Regions from separate parts of the Homo sapiens genome. Here region 2 is linked to region 1. Evidence: promoter capture Hi-C in 16 types of primary human blood cells and fetal thymus (Javierre and others, 2016). All regions are on one chromosome and are shown on one strand. Each heading gives the region's core, a stretch centred on a gene start or on the middle of the fragment in contact. The rest is flanking DNA. Distances are from core to core; before and after follow the strand shown. Region 1 holds the start of BICDL1 (BICD family like cargo adaptor 1). Region 2 overlaps BICDL1 (BICD family like cargo adaptor 1).

Region 1 (7,238 bases), core at 2,786-5,285:
AGTTCAAGACCAGCCTGGCCAACATAGTGAAACCCCGTCTCTACTAAAAATACCAAAATTAGCCAAGTGTGGGGGCACATGCCTGTAGTCCCAGCTACTTGGGAGGCTGAGGCAGGAGAATCACTTGACCTGGGAGGTGGAGGATGCAGCGAGCCAAGATTGCGCCACTGCACTCACTCCAGCCTGGGCAACAGAGTGAGACTCCATCTCAAGAAAGAAAGAAAGAGAGAGAGAGAGAGAAAGAAAGAAACTATAACTTGTCAAGTTTGGGTGTAATATCAAAGAAAAATATCCAAAATGAAAAGGCTACTAAAATATTCCTCCTTTTCCCAACCACATATCTTTGTGAGTCCAAATTTTCTTCATATATTTCAAAATATCATACATTATAGATATATCCAAATACAAGAATTCACTTTTCTACTGTTAAGCCATACATTACAGAGGTTTACAAAAATGAAGAATAACGCCATTCTTCTCACTAGTTTTTTTTACATTTAGGACCATATAGTTATTGTTCATAAAAATTCATTATAGTTACATATAATAGGTTTATCATAAATATTTAAAATGAATTAATTATTTAAAAACTTTTTTTTTGGAGATGGAGTCTCACTCTGTCACCCAGGCTGGAGTGCAGTGGCGTGACCTTGGCTCACTGCAACGTCCGCCTCCCAGGTTCAAACGATCCTCCCGCCTCAGCCTCCTGAGTAGCTGGGACTACAGGCACATGCCACCATGCACAGCTAATTTTTGTATTTTTAGTAGAGACAGGGTTTTGCCATGCTGGCCAGGCTGGTCTTGAACTCATTACCCCAAGTGATCTGCCTGCCTCGGCCTCCCAAAGTGCTAGGATTACAAGCATGAGCCACCGTACCCGGCCCAAGAGTGTAATGAGATTCTGAGACCAAAATGTTTAAGAACCACTATTTTGAATAGTTCTGCAAAGTTGGGCTGGTTCTCCCAGAAAGACAGTGCTTAGAGCCAAACCTACTGTAAGAAGTGAACATTTCCTAGTAAGGTTCAGCAGTGGAACATTGTTAGGAAGGAAATTCAGAAGCTGGAGTTAGAATTGTAACAGTTCATTTTCACAGTAACAGATAAGTGGAACAGATTAGGACCATTGGGCTCAAGGCAGGCAAACAAAGTCATTTTTTGAAAGATAGGCTGCATGTCTGCATTAAGGAAAAAGAGCTGAAACTCTTTTTTTTTTTTTTTTTTTTGACAAGTTCTTGCTCTGTCACCCAGACTGGAGTGCAATAGTATGATCAGGGCTCACTGCAGCCTTGATCTTCCAGGCTCAACTCACCCTCCCATCTCAGCCTCCTGAGTAGCTGGGGCTATAGGCACACACCACCATGCCTGGCTAATTTTTTTGTATTTTTTGTAGAGACGGGGTTTTGGCCATGTTGTCCAGGCTAGTCTCAAACTCCTGGGCTTATAAGACCCTCCCACTTTGGCCTCCCAAAATGCTGGGGTCATAGGCATGAGCCACCCAACTGGTGGAGAGACAGGATCTTGCCATGTTGCCTGTTATAAGTAAAATGTTTATTTAGAAACAGAATGCTTGTTCCTCGGTACCACGAGGAAAAATCAGCATTTAGAGAGAAAGTTTTCTCAGCAATGCAATTTTAGTTTCTGCAGAAAGGGTGCTCCTTGCAGCTGGAACAATGGCAAGAGCACACCTGAATAAAGGAAAGAAGCAATTTTTATCCCTTACGCAGTTTGTCCCTGCTACTGTGCCTTGTCTCCATTGGCTGGAGCCAGACCTTACAATTTAAACTGAACCTGATAGGCTAACAACTTAAAACTTTTCTAAATAGGTAAAAGCAATGGAGAACAAAGGAAAAGAGGAAGTTATTTATGAAAAGACTTAGAAAAGTAGTAACATTCCCAAATAGGGAAGGGGCATAGGCTGCAAGCTGGGACATGCCAGTGAGCATGTCCAGCACAGGTATCTTGGTTAAAGTACATGGACATAGAATGTACTCATTCCCTTAGATCTAACAGCTACATAGGAAAGGGCTTAACAGAGAGTTATTAGCATAAAATAAGGTGGCTTGAAGGAAGTTAGTCTTTAAAAGAAACCATTATTTCTAACACTTATTATTCATTCTTTAACAAGAAGGGAAGCTTTGAAGAGGAAACTTTACTTTCTACATTGTCCAAGCTGGTCTTGAACTCCTGGGCTCAAGCAATCCTCCTGCCTCAGCCTCCCGAAGTGCTGAGATTATAGGCAGGAGCCACAGAGCCTGGCCCTGTTTGTTCTTGATGTGTCTCCAGACATATTAGGGAGAAATTTGTCCTTCTGTGATTCAAATAAGACAAAAGGAAGTGGCAATTGGATCTCACCTCTGGCCCACAATTCCAGCTCAAGGTGGGAGGTCATAATAAAAAGTGTTAGAACATTTCCTTGCTGGAATGGTAACATGGTCAACTGCAGAAATTTAGCTCTAAGATTGATGTGGGAATCCCTCAACTGTCTGTCTCCTTTCCAGTCAACAAGTGAACAATGCCAGCCCTGAGGCCCAGGAGCTTTTCAGATTCTGGCCTTCAGTCTAAGGGTAACGATGTTAAAACTTGAATATTGTTTAGGCTCTGAATTTAATAAGCGATAAAAACCATGAGAAACTATTTGACCCATTTCAGCCTCTTGATGTTCTGAAATTTCCATCTCACTGGGATGAAAAGAAGAAAGGCATGATCCAAGTAAAAAATGGGTTGTCTGTCCAAGAGGAAAAGGAAGCATAGGGACGAATTCTAGCTTTAGATGGGATTGTTTCTGGAAATAGGAGACACGTAGCACCACCAACGAGGTCAACACCAAGGAATGACTGCAAGTCACCCAGTAGGCTCTCCAAACCTTCCTTTAATCATTGAGGAAATGTTCCTTCCATATCCACCCAATCCATCTTGGTCACAAAGGACCATTTATCTTCCTCAAGACTGCTTCTATGTGAAGAAAATAAAGAATAATGATTCACGTGATCCCTGGCGTCGGCCTGGCTAGATCTCAATCCTGACTCTACCAGTTGTAATGACCTGGGCAGACGATGCCATCTCTCAGGCTTTAATTTCCTTCTCTGTTAAAATGACAAGCGGCAGTACTGATTTTATAAAGTTCTTGTGAGGATTATCTAAAATAATGACTATCAAGCACTTAATACAGGACATGGCACACACTGAGTGCCGAATAAACGGTAGTTATTATTAGGGAGGTTCTTTGCTTCGTATTCCCATCTGTGAGCAGTTTTTTCCGTTATTTCTCCGCAGAAACCCTTTCTCTCCGGGCTGCTGATCTGCGAAGCATCTGGTCCTTCATATCCCTGAGTCATCAGCATGAAGATGCCTGGTTTCCGAAGTCCTCCCTCCTCCTACTGCTCTCTAGGGCTCCCTCTCCTGACTGCTTAGTTCTCCTGGGGGCCCAGACCTAAATTTCGTGAGGGTATGTCTTTCTCGGGGCCGGGTCACCAGTCTTGGAGGAATGTCCTCAGTCCCCTTTGCCCCAGACACCACCAGAGATGCGGCAACAGAACTCTGAGGCGCGCCCCGGCTTCCAAGTAGCTGGGGGCGGGGCCGCGCCTGGAGGTGAGCAGCAGGCGGTGGGCGGGGCCGCGCTCCGTCCGAGGTGAGAGCGAGGCCGGGTGCGAGGCCACACCCCGAGGTACGAGAGCTGAGGGCGTGGCCACACCCCAGCTCTGAGCGAGGCTGAGGGCGGAACCGCACCCCGAAGTGGGTGCAAGGCTGGGGGCGTGGCCGCGCGGTGAGGCAGCCAGGACCGTGAGGGATGCGCCAGCCGCCTCCGCAGGCGGCGCGCGCAGCCGCCCGCAGGGCGTGAGGCAGAGCAGGGGTTAAGGCCGCCGGCGCCACCTGGGCGTCGCTGAGGAGACCCGCGAGCCGGCGAATCCCGCGCGGGCGGGGCGAACAGGTGCCCGCGCGCGTCAGGCGCCGGCAAGGGGCGGGGCGAGGGGACGCGGCCGGAAGCCCGGGGCGGGGCGCTGCCGGCCCGGTGAGCCGGGAGGAGCCGGGGAAGGCAGGAAGGAGCTCGCCGGGTTGCGCGGCGCGCGATGTGGAGCCGCCGCCTCGGCCCCTGCAGCAGCAGCAGCCGCCGTCGCCGCCGCTGCTGCTGGGGCTGCCGCGGAGCCGGGGGTCATGGAGTGCGGCTGCAGAGAGCGGCCGCCGGCAACAGCAGCAGCAGCAGGAAGCGTCGCGGCGACAGCGGAGCGCAGCCCGCCCCGTGAGGCGCTGCCCGGCCGGCGGCGGCAGCAGCAGCAGCAGCGGCAGCGGCAACAGGGCGGCTGAGAACCCGGCGGCGGCGTTCCTCCTCGCTTCCTCCCCTCCCGCTTCGCCGACCCTCAGTCTCTGTTCCTGAGTCCTCCCTTCCCCAGCCTTCCCGTTCCCACCACCTACTCCGCCACTACCCCCACCCCCTCCTCCCGCGCGCGCCTGAGCAGCTGAGCCCGGGGGCGGGGGAGGGGGCGCGTGCCGCCGGCGCGGGGGAGGGGCGGGCCGGCGCGCGCCGCGCCCAGGGCTCGCGGGGACCCGGGGGCGCGTGCCGCGGCGCGAGGCGAGGCGCGGGACGCGGGGCGGCGCGGCAGGGCCCCTCCCCCCTGCAGCCTGGCGCGCGCGGGCCGGGCCGCACCGCTGCGGGCTCCGCGCGCGCGGGCCATGTCCGCTTTCTGCCTGGGCTTGGTCGGCCGCGCTTCAGCACCCGCCGAGCCGGACAGCGCCTGCTGCATGGAGCTGCCCGCCGCGGCCGGGGACGCAGTCCGGAGTCCCGCCGCCGCCGCCGCCCTCATCTTCCCCGGGGGCTCCGGGGAGCTAGAACTGGCGTTAGAGGAGGAGCTGGCGCTGCTGGCGGCCGGGGAGCGGCCGTCCGACCCCGGGGAACACCCTCAGGCCGAGCCTGGGTCTCTGGCCGAGGGGGCCGGACCGCAGCCGCCGCCCTCCCAGGACCCCGAGCTGCTGTCGGTGATCCGACAGAAGGAGAAGGATCTGGTGTTGGCGGCCCGGCTGGGTAAGGCGCTGCTCGAGAGGAACCAGGACATGAGCCGGCAGTACGAGCAGATGCATAAGGAGCTGACAGACAAGCTCGAGGTGAGGACCTCCCTCCAGGGATGGGTGGGGAGCAGGGGCCGCCCAGGCACGCGCCCGGCCCTGGGCAGTTAGGGAACCACTCACCCCCACTTCGTTGCTCACCCTACCTCGCAGAAAATCTGGAATGAATGGGGGAGGGAGGATGGAGGATTATCAGATTTCGTTGAACCCACTTGACTTCCCCACCCCGCTCACAGCAAATGGGTCCATGCGTGGCTCCAGCCGCTGTGGGCCGTTCTATATACGTACTGTACCCAGCATCTAAAATAGAGCTTACAGTATGACTATATAGCACTGAGGTGATGTCTGCATACAGAGAAATGAGGAAGTCGGGAAGCATTTAAAATATGTTGCAGGTTTTCAGAGCAGTTAATCTCTAATCAGGGTGTTAGCCTAAAGCCTTCCAGTTTGGGCGTTAAGGCCTTTAGATGCCCTTGTCTTAACTTCCTGGCAGCTCAGAGTTGTGGGAAACAAGTGCCCCTAAAGGAGCTTTATATAGCCTTCAAATGCTCAGGGATTAGGAAATGTGGTTCCATTGCAGAAATCAGGCGAGCCAGGGCTCAACATGTGACCGCTGGTAGTGGATTTAATTTGGGCCTCAGTATTTATGTGTATTTAAACAGTACTTTTCTGTGTTCTGGGTCTCAGGCTTGCAATTGAATGACCAAATGCAACCTATGAGAACCATATTACTTTAACTTCTGTTATAAAATACCTGTTAAGGTATCCGTAATATTTCTGCCAGTTCTCTAGGCAGTCTTTCAGAGTTGTTTGTTTTCTTGCCCTTAACTAGAAAAGGGCCTTGAATGCAGTACAGAATGCCAGCATTTCTAAAAATTAGATTGCAAAAAAAAGGGGCAGGGGGATGGGGAGAGGGAGTCACCTGTGACTTACCTTTCCTGCCTGTGCGTTTACTATTATTGTTACCTAGTTTGGTTGCAGCCAGCTCTTTTCATTCTTAGTTACAGCAAGACAATAGTACAGACCTGAATGAGGTTTGAAATTGACCCTAGTCAGGTTCCGTATCTCTGCTACTGGTTGAACAGTCAGAATGGAAATTCAGAAATATTCTGTAATAAGATTTAAGTATGCCTATAGTCCAGCGACGTAAAAGTAAATCCGGGAGAAAAAAAGGAAACCTGTGAGTGCCCTGTAGTTCGGTTGTCCTGCTAACTAGGTCTGCCAGTCGATGAACTCCTGAGATACCTCTCTGAAAAGTCGTTTGTGAAACCTATAGGTAGACTGCCAAAAAGCAGCCTAATGAATTGAATTGTTTAATTTTCACTTGAAGTAGAGGTCTAGAAATAAAAAGCCTTCCTTTTTTTTTTATAAAGAGATTCAGTTGTACGACTTTGTAAAGAAGTACAACTACAGAGATTTATACTTGTGATTTGAAATTTCTTCAGTGAAGGACTTGATTGAAGAGACAGCTGACTTGAAAGGAGCACCGTATCAGTTTGATTAGTGCCAGATTTCATAGTAATCCTGAGTGTGCAATTACATACATTCTGGGTTCCATGTGGAGCCTTTATACATTTCTTCAACATAGGGCAAAGATTTCAGAATGGTAACAAAAAAAGGTTGTATTGTAAAAGAATAAATTATCTTTGACATTTTGTTATTTACTTAATGGACAACAATAGTTTAAAACTCTTTAAACTATTTTTTAAAACCTTCATTCCTCTGCAGGTCAGCATATGAACTCTAGTTTTAAAAGTTCAATTTTAAGTTCTGGAGATAGTCGCACAACAATGTGAATATAACTAACATATACTTAACATATACTTACAGGCCAAATATTGATCATTGTTGAAACTCAGTGATGAGGGGAGTCAGTTATATTATTTCTTATAGGTAGGTTTGAAAATTATAAAAAATTTTAAAGTTTTAAAAATGTTCATTAAAGATACTAAGAGAGTACCATTAGTTGCTTGTTAATCTTTCTAGTGTTAATGTGAGAGTGACAAACCTGGTTTACAGAGTACTGTTTTATTTGACACCTCCGGTTTAGTTTTCCCCACAGTACATTGTTTGAACAATGTAGGTTTTAGAATGTCTGTTTAGACAATACTTTCTAACGTTCAGTACAAACTGCTGTACTTTGTACTTTTTTCTTTTTTAGACAAGATCTCACTCTATCC
Region 2 (7,238 bases), core at 4,184-6,683, 100 kb after region 1:
TTGAGCCTAGGGGTTCAAGACCAGCCTGGGGAACATAATGAGACCCTGTCTCTACTAAAAATACAAATAAAAAATTAGCTGAGTGTGGTGGTACATTCTTGGAGTCGCAGAGGTGGGAGGATCACTTGAGCCCAGAAGGTTGAGGCTGCAGTGAGCTGTGATCATGCCACTGCACTCCAGCCTGGATGACAGAGCAAGATCCTGCCTCAAAAAAAAAAAAAAAAAAAAAAGGCAGAATGAAGATAGAAGTACACATGGGTTGGTTACCTTCTCTCAGACAAGAAGCTGAACATTAAGATCATATTCTGTCATCAGCATGGAAGGTGGGATGGAAGGTGGGGGATACAAACAGAGAAAGTGTCAGGGTGCAGGAGAGAAGAAGCAAGTTGTCCAGTCTTTCTCCCTTTAAAAAAAAAAAAAAAAAAAAGTAAAACCTAGCTCTGCCACCTGGGTGAGCAAATCTACATGAAACCTTGTAATGCATGCTCTTGCCTGCTTTCAAAGGAGGCCCAGTTACTATCCAGGAGTCTGATTAGACTTGCAAATTCTCCCCTCTGGAAGGATGCCCCCAGTAGGGAGAACTCTGGAGCAAGGGTCCTGTCCTTCCTGGACTCCTATAGAACAGGGCTGGCTGGGCAGTTAGGTTACTCTGGGAGGATAGTTCTTTTCCCATACCTTAGAAATGAATTTTTGTTATACAAGAATTGAGACGACAAGCCTAAGGAATCATTTAAAGAGGAAACCACACCCCCCATTTGTATAGTAACTTAGTTTTACCAGATACTTCTTCCATATACGTTATCTCTGATTCTCCATCCTGGCCGCACATTACAATCATCTGGGGAGCGCTCAGACACCAGGAACCTCACCAGAACAATACAGTTGAAATCACGGGGTGGGGTCAGTTGGGTGGGGCCCACTTCTTTCCCCCTTGATTTTAATGTGTAGTCAGGGGTGAGAATCCCTAAGAAATATAACTTCCTTCTCGTCACTGGGCTGCAGAAACCTTAAGGTGCACCTTCTCCTATACAATAAATGAGTTTCAGGAAAATTAAGTAGCAATTTTTTTATCTCCTTGCAGGTGAAGGGCCTTCACTAAAACCAAAAATAAATCTTGGGCTAGCAATCTGCCTTACAAAAACAAGTCAGTTACTAGTGGTTTCATTTGTAAAAAGGAATTATTCGAGCCCTTGGAATATTCCTATTTTTAAAATGTGATTAATGTGTTGATCCTGGTCTGGGGTTTCCCATGAATGACGAGCACTTATTCCTTGGTGAGCAAATGTCCCAACGGTGCAGCGCGTGGCCAGGATTGGAGGTCGTCCAGGCAGCCCCTGCCTCAGGGCGTTTTTTGGCAAGGAAGGGAACCCCACCATGCCCGGCGCTGCGCCGCGGCTGTAGCCCTGGGCCCATCTGTCCCTCGCCGGCAACGTTAGTCAGCACATTCCTGGGGCTCCCGCTGCTCTCGGCGCCACCTGCCGGGGGACGCCGGAAGCTCAGGAGGCTGTGGCTGTCGTGGGGCACCACGGGTTCTGACGCTACTGGAGGGGTGTCCATGGCAACCGATGCCGCGTGAGGATTTCCGCTGTTTGCTGCCAGCCAATAGCAGTGGGTGTGACGGAGGCAGCCTTCGGCATCTGAGCCCTCAGCATCCATTAGACGGGCTCGGGTCCCGTCGCTGCCGCAGTGGGCGGGGCTGACGCGGTGGCTGAGCTGTCTGGAGCGGTTTCTCTAGGGAAGGCAGGCGGGCCGGCGGGCGGGGCGCACTTGCGGTGTCGGCACAGGTGACTAATTGCTCGGTAGACCTGAAGCCAAAGAAGAAGTGCTGGTCGCAGCAGTGGCCTGAGCACTTTGCAAGTGGGATCCACCTGTTCCTTTTTCTGGCCGCACTTCGGTTAGTGCGGTCGGTGTTGTGAAGCTCGAGCTAGGCGGCCTCTGCAGGCGGATCCTCTAGCTGCCCTTGAGCCCTGCACATTAGTCGCTGGCCCTGTACAAGGAGCATGCTTTTGTTAGCTTTGCTGTTTTGAGTGCTTAAGGGAGCGATTAATGAAGGCAAGGGCTAAATAATACACGTTTCTGCAGTTGGGCAACCAGGGCTGCCTCTGCAGAGGTCCTTCCACCTTTATTCCCGTTCCCCTGCCCTCGAAAAAAATTAATTTTCTTTTGCATTGAACAGCCGTGATTTAGGAATGTTGGGAAAGGTGAACAAAGTAATACGTGAAACACAAATGTGAAAATAAAAAAATGCAAAATAATGTCGGAGGAGTTACCCATCAGTAATCATCACCCAGAGATAACCAACTAGACATTTTTGTGCATATCCTTGAACACACAGGCAGTTTTTTGTTTTGTTTTGAGACAGAGTTTCGCTCTTGTTGCCCAGGCTGGAGTGCAGTGGCGTGATCTTGGCTCACTGTAACCTCCGCCTCCTGGATTCAAGTGATCTCCTACCTCAGCCTCCTGAGTAGCTGGGATTACAGGCAGCATGCGCCACCACGCCCGGCAAATTTTTGTATTTTTAGTAGAGGCGGGGTTTCTCCTTGTTGGTCAGGCTGGTCTCGAACTCCCAACCTCAGGTGATCCGCCCACCTTGGCCTCCCAAAGTGCTGGGGATTAGAGGCGTGAGCCACAGCACCCTGCGGACACAGGCAGTTTTTGTTTTACAAAACTAGTATTATACTAGACCTTGTTTTCTGGTGCTTTTTCCACTCAGCAATATGTTATGAACTGTCAATAAATATTCTACCTCATGGTTTTTTGTGGGGTTTTGTTTTTATTTTTTTGAGACGGAGTCTTGCTCTATTGCCCAGGCTGGAGTGCAGTGGCACAATCTGGGCTCACTGCAAGCTCCACCTCCCAGGTTCAAGCGATTCTCCTGCCTCAGCCTCCCGAGTAGCTGGGATTACAGGCACCTGCCACCACACCCAGCTAATTTTTGTATTTTTAGCAGAGATGGGTTTTCGCCATGTTGGCCAGGCTGGTCTCGAACTCCTGACCTCAGGTGATCCTTCCACCTTGGCCTCCCAAAGTGCTGGGATTACAGGCACGAGCCACCGCGCCTGGCCACACTTTATGGGGTTTTTTTGTTTTTTTGAGACGGAGTCTTGTTCTGTCACCCAGGCTGCAGTGCAGTGGCGCGATCTGGGCTTACTGCAAGCTCCGCCTCCCGGGTTCACGCCATTCTCCTGCCTCAGCCTCGCCAGTAGCTGGGACTACAGGCACCTGCCGCCATGCCTGGCTAATTTTTGGTATTTTTAGTAGAGACGGGGTTTCACTGTTAGCCAGGATGGTCTCAATCTCCTGACCTCGTGATCCGCCCGCCTTGGCCTCCCAAAGTGCTGGAATTACAGGGGTGAGCCACCGCACCCGGCCTACTTTATGGTTTTTACTGGTGACTGTATTCCATCCCATCATTCATGACCACTTGGCTACTCTGACTAGCTAAGCTATAGTGATCACCACTGTGTGGCTATCTTCGCACACCTCTGTATCTTCAGGACAGTTCCCCTAAGGGGGATTGCTAACTACAAGGAATCCCTTCTATACCAGCAGGACAAGGTTCCTGCCTTCCAGTGGGGAATGGGCCATTTTGGGAAAGGATGAGTAGCTCCTTTATGCTGTGTGAGGCTTTTGATCCCCTCTGGGTTCCAGTCCTTATTTTAGTATTGTCCTTTTTCAACGTGTGTGTGTGTGTGTGTATGTGTGTGTGTGTGGGGTGTGACGGAGTTCTGCTCTTTCAACGTGTGTGTGGCGTGTGTGTGTGACGGAGTTCTGCTCTTTCAACGTGTGTGTGTGTGTGGTGTGTGTGTGTGTGACGGAGTTCTGCTCTTTTTGCCCAGGATGGAGTGCAATGGTGCAATCTCGGCTCACTGCAACCTCCTTCTCCTGGGTTCAAGCAATTCTCCTGCCTCAGCCCGAGTAACTGGGATTACAGGCATGTGCCACCACGCCTGGCTAATTTTGTATTTTTAGTAGAGACAGGGTTTCTCCATGTTGGTCAGGCTGGTCTCGAACCCTCGATCTCAGGTGATCCACCCGCCTCGGCCTCCCAAAGTGCTGGGATTACAGGCATGAGCCACCACACCCGGCCTCAACTTCTGTTTCTTTATCCGTGAGGTGGGGATGACAAATATTCCTTTCACCTACAGGTTGGTTATGAAAACTGGGAGAATATATGTGAAAACATGTTGCAAACTAACCCTCTGCAGGCAACATCATAGTTATTGTTGCAGCTGCTATTTGTTGTGAGTTCAGGGTCAGAGCCTGTTTCCTCATCCTGGGACTCCAGGTGCCCCAAGTAAAGACCAAGATGCCTCTGGCACAAGGTGTCCATGTTCACCCTGGCTTGTCTGTTCTCAGGAAGAATGCTGTGGAGCTGGAACTTGCCAAGTGCAGGATGGATATGATGTCTCTGAACAGCCAGTTGCTGGATGCCATTCAGCAGAAACTGAACCTCTCGCAGCAGCTGGAAGCTTGGCAGGTAAACTGGAGCCTGAGATCCAGGGCGAGAGGAGACTCCAGGAGGAATCTCTGAACCCAGGCAGAGTGTAAGGAGAGTTTGCCACTGGAGGGTTCCATGTGACTGGGTGAACAGCACATCCCAGTCTTCACCTGGCAAGATCCAGAGCTCATGTCCCCTAGTCCTTGGGGAAGAATGCTTAAGGATGCTTTTGAGCGACAGTGCCCAGGCTGCTGCTGTCTGGAGATGTAGTGATCTCCAGACTTGGAATGGGGCCCCCTTTCAGCTGGTTGTCTGGGCTTTAAGCTGGAAAGAAACAACTGGTTAACATGGAGGCCCAGGAAGCTCAGTATAATTGCATGAAAATTCACAGCGGGATGCGGCTCAGCAACCCTCCTGCAGCCAGCAGCTGCTACCCTTCCCCTTCTCAAGGGCCAGCCTCCATTTTCCAAAGAGCACTGTGCTGGCACAGGCCCTGGGGAAGAGGAGTCAGTGGGTCCCTCTCTAGACCCACTGTTTTCAGGGTCCAGCATGGCTCCCCCACTGGACTGGGCTGTGGCTGGCTGGGTTTTGTTCGTGAGGTTGAGGTAGCACAGTTTTAGGATATGGGTATAAACATTAATATTTCTCCCCAAGAATTCTCATCCAGACAGATGAAAAGCCGTCTGTGGCTTTACAAGGTAAGCCCCCCGTGGAGGGCAGGTTGTTGGTGACCATTCCTCCCAGGGCCCCATGGGGCTGGCAGCCAGAACACTGGCCCCACCGCAGGGTGCCCGTCCCTGGCTCCTTGGCTCCTGCATGGCAGCCAGCTGGCCGCGCCCTGGCTGACCGCTGCTCTCTCTCTTCTCTCCCGGCTACAGTTTGCTTCCTCAGGGCTTTTTACTATCTGGCTCCTTTGGTTTCTGATCTAGTGGCCTTTCTCAGTTCCCGTATCAACAGCTTTAGTTGTACACCCCTCCTGCCTTTGAGGTGAGCCTGAGCCCTACATCCCATCCACCGTCTCGCCCTGCCATTGCTGTGCTGCCCCGCCGCCTCCCCTCATGGCCCACTGTGTTCTGTGTGCTGGAGCCTGGCGTCATCTCTGTGCAGTGTGACATGCCCTCAAGTCCCAGCTCCCTCCTCCATCACAGTCGCGTCCAGTGAGCTCTTCAGCAGTGTGTGGCCCAGTGCTAACGGCTGGTGCCGTCTTCTCATAGATGGCTGTTCCATCCACTGAGGGACCAGCAGGCCTGGAATGATGAGCAGCGTGTGTCTGGGAAACTCTAAAGGGCGACCTGGACAGACCTGATTGCTTAAAGTTAAAAAAATGAAGTTTTCAGTGTGCCAAACAAAACATTGGCAGCTTTGAAAGGTTGGTTTTTGAAAGACCCTTTAGCATTCCTACATTGGATTTAGCGTAGATTTTACTGAGCACGTCGTAAGTGCAGGGCACTGTGCCAAGGATCATATACTAGACCCTTATAAGGAGGGACCGTGTGTTGGCAAATACCTGGCACAGTGCCAGCTCTGAGGGGCAAGTGGAAAAGGGGATGGAAGAGAAGGGAAGAAGACAAGGGCAAGGAGAAGACCAGGAATGAGCTGAGTCTGAAAGACAGGGTTGAGAGAATAGGGAGGCTGGAGAGCAGGCCCTGAGCCAGAGCGCGTGAGGGGTCCACACTCACTGCTACCCCACGATGACTCAGGAAGGCCCCTTTGTTTCATGCTGAAACCTGCAGAGATATTAGAATGACACCCATGGGTGGGAGGGAGGAGGAGTGGACAAGCTGCTCAGATGGAGGGGCCCAGCCAGCCCAACTTCATGCCCTCATCTCGTCAGTGGCTGCTCGGAACCAAAGAGGTCATCTGCCCTGGCCACAGGGAGCCTGCCCTGAACACAGGCCTCACCTGTCCTGTGCTCGGACACCACAGGCTGACTCACTCAGGGGTTTAGCCAGAAAAGCTTGGGGTCTTACCAGGATGCCGCAGAGCCTGCCAGGTTCAAGTCATGAAGGAATCGAGCAGACACATGTTACATTTACTGATGATGCTAATTACACAGGCTGCTCATATTTCTAAAGCAGGAGTTTTCAAACTTTGTTAGTGGCAGAACTTTTGTCAAATGGAGTCTTACCCAGAGTCAGAATCTAGCCACCAAAATGGGAAGGGAGTGGAGCTGCCCTGTCCACAGGCTTCTCTATGGGAAAGGCTGCTGTTCTGTAAAACATGGTGGGGCGGGCTGTGGGGAGGAAGGCATTTTCTGGACCACATGAACGAATTCGAGTTGGGGGACGGTCCTACCCCAGTGAGGAAGCTGAAAGAAATGGGCCTGATTTGGTGCAGGACAGCCCCTGAAGACCGTGAGGCCCCTGGCCTCTGCCGCAGATGGGAGCCTCAGCAGCAGGGTCTAGGGCAGCACCCAGGGCATCCTTGCCACGTGAGGCTGCCGTTGGTGCCTGGGCATCAGTAGCTCAGGCTGGAATAATTGGAAAGGAAAAGGCAGGAGGAGCCCCTGAGGCCAGGCCATTGGGCTGGGGAGCTGTTAAGCTGAGGTGGCCCTAGGGCCTGCCGGGGCTGGGGGTGGCAAGCCAAACCGGAGGCACCAGCCAGGCCCACAGGACACAGGAGGCAGAGCCGTGAGGCCTGGTCAGAGCAGGTGGAGTGCTAGTGTGGAGACTGCAGGGAGAGACCACCCGAGCCATCAGCTGAGGACTGTGGCGGCCCAGCAGGAGTAACACTGTTGAGGAGAACCCAGCCCAAGCCTGAGGAGGCTGGAGGTGCCATACGGCTCCTGCGTGCGCCT

The links. The method cuts DNA at HindIII sites, captures the fragments that hold promoters and counts their contacts. A CHiCAGO score of 5 or more calls a contact.
Region 2: a contact is called between a fragment that was not itself captured here and the fragment with the promoter of BICDL1 in region 1, in 7 of 17 cell types (activated CD4 T cells, naive CD4 T cells, non-activated CD4 T cells and 4 more). The highest score is 11.2, in activated CD4 T cells.

What each region holds. Positions count from the first base shown.
Region 1 is chr12:119,985,201-119,992,438 of GRCh38, forward strand. BICDL1 (BICD family like cargo adaptor 1) reads left to right here and starts at 4,036. Exons shown (of 10, transcript NM_001367886.1): 1 at 4,036-5,097. The coding sequence starts at 4,669. RefSeq lists silencers at 3,584-3,643, 3,664-4,303, 4,584-4,673, 4,724-4,793, 4,804-5,013 and 2 more and enhancers at 3,707-4,680, 4,681-5,652. The HindIII fragment of the contact is 12,107 bases long and covers 2,132-7,238 here.
Region 2 is chr12:120,085,592-120,092,829 of GRCh38, forward strand. It overlaps BICDL1 (BICD family like cargo adaptor 1), which reads left to right. Exons shown (of 10, transcript NM_001367886.1): 9 at 4,360-4,480. Among named protein-coding and RNA genes, the nearest start is that of RAB35, 28 kb to the right of the region's middle. RefSeq lists enhancers at 1,734-1,813, 5,188-5,780, 7,206-7,238. The HindIII fragment of the contact is 1,926 bases long and covers 4,471-6,396 here.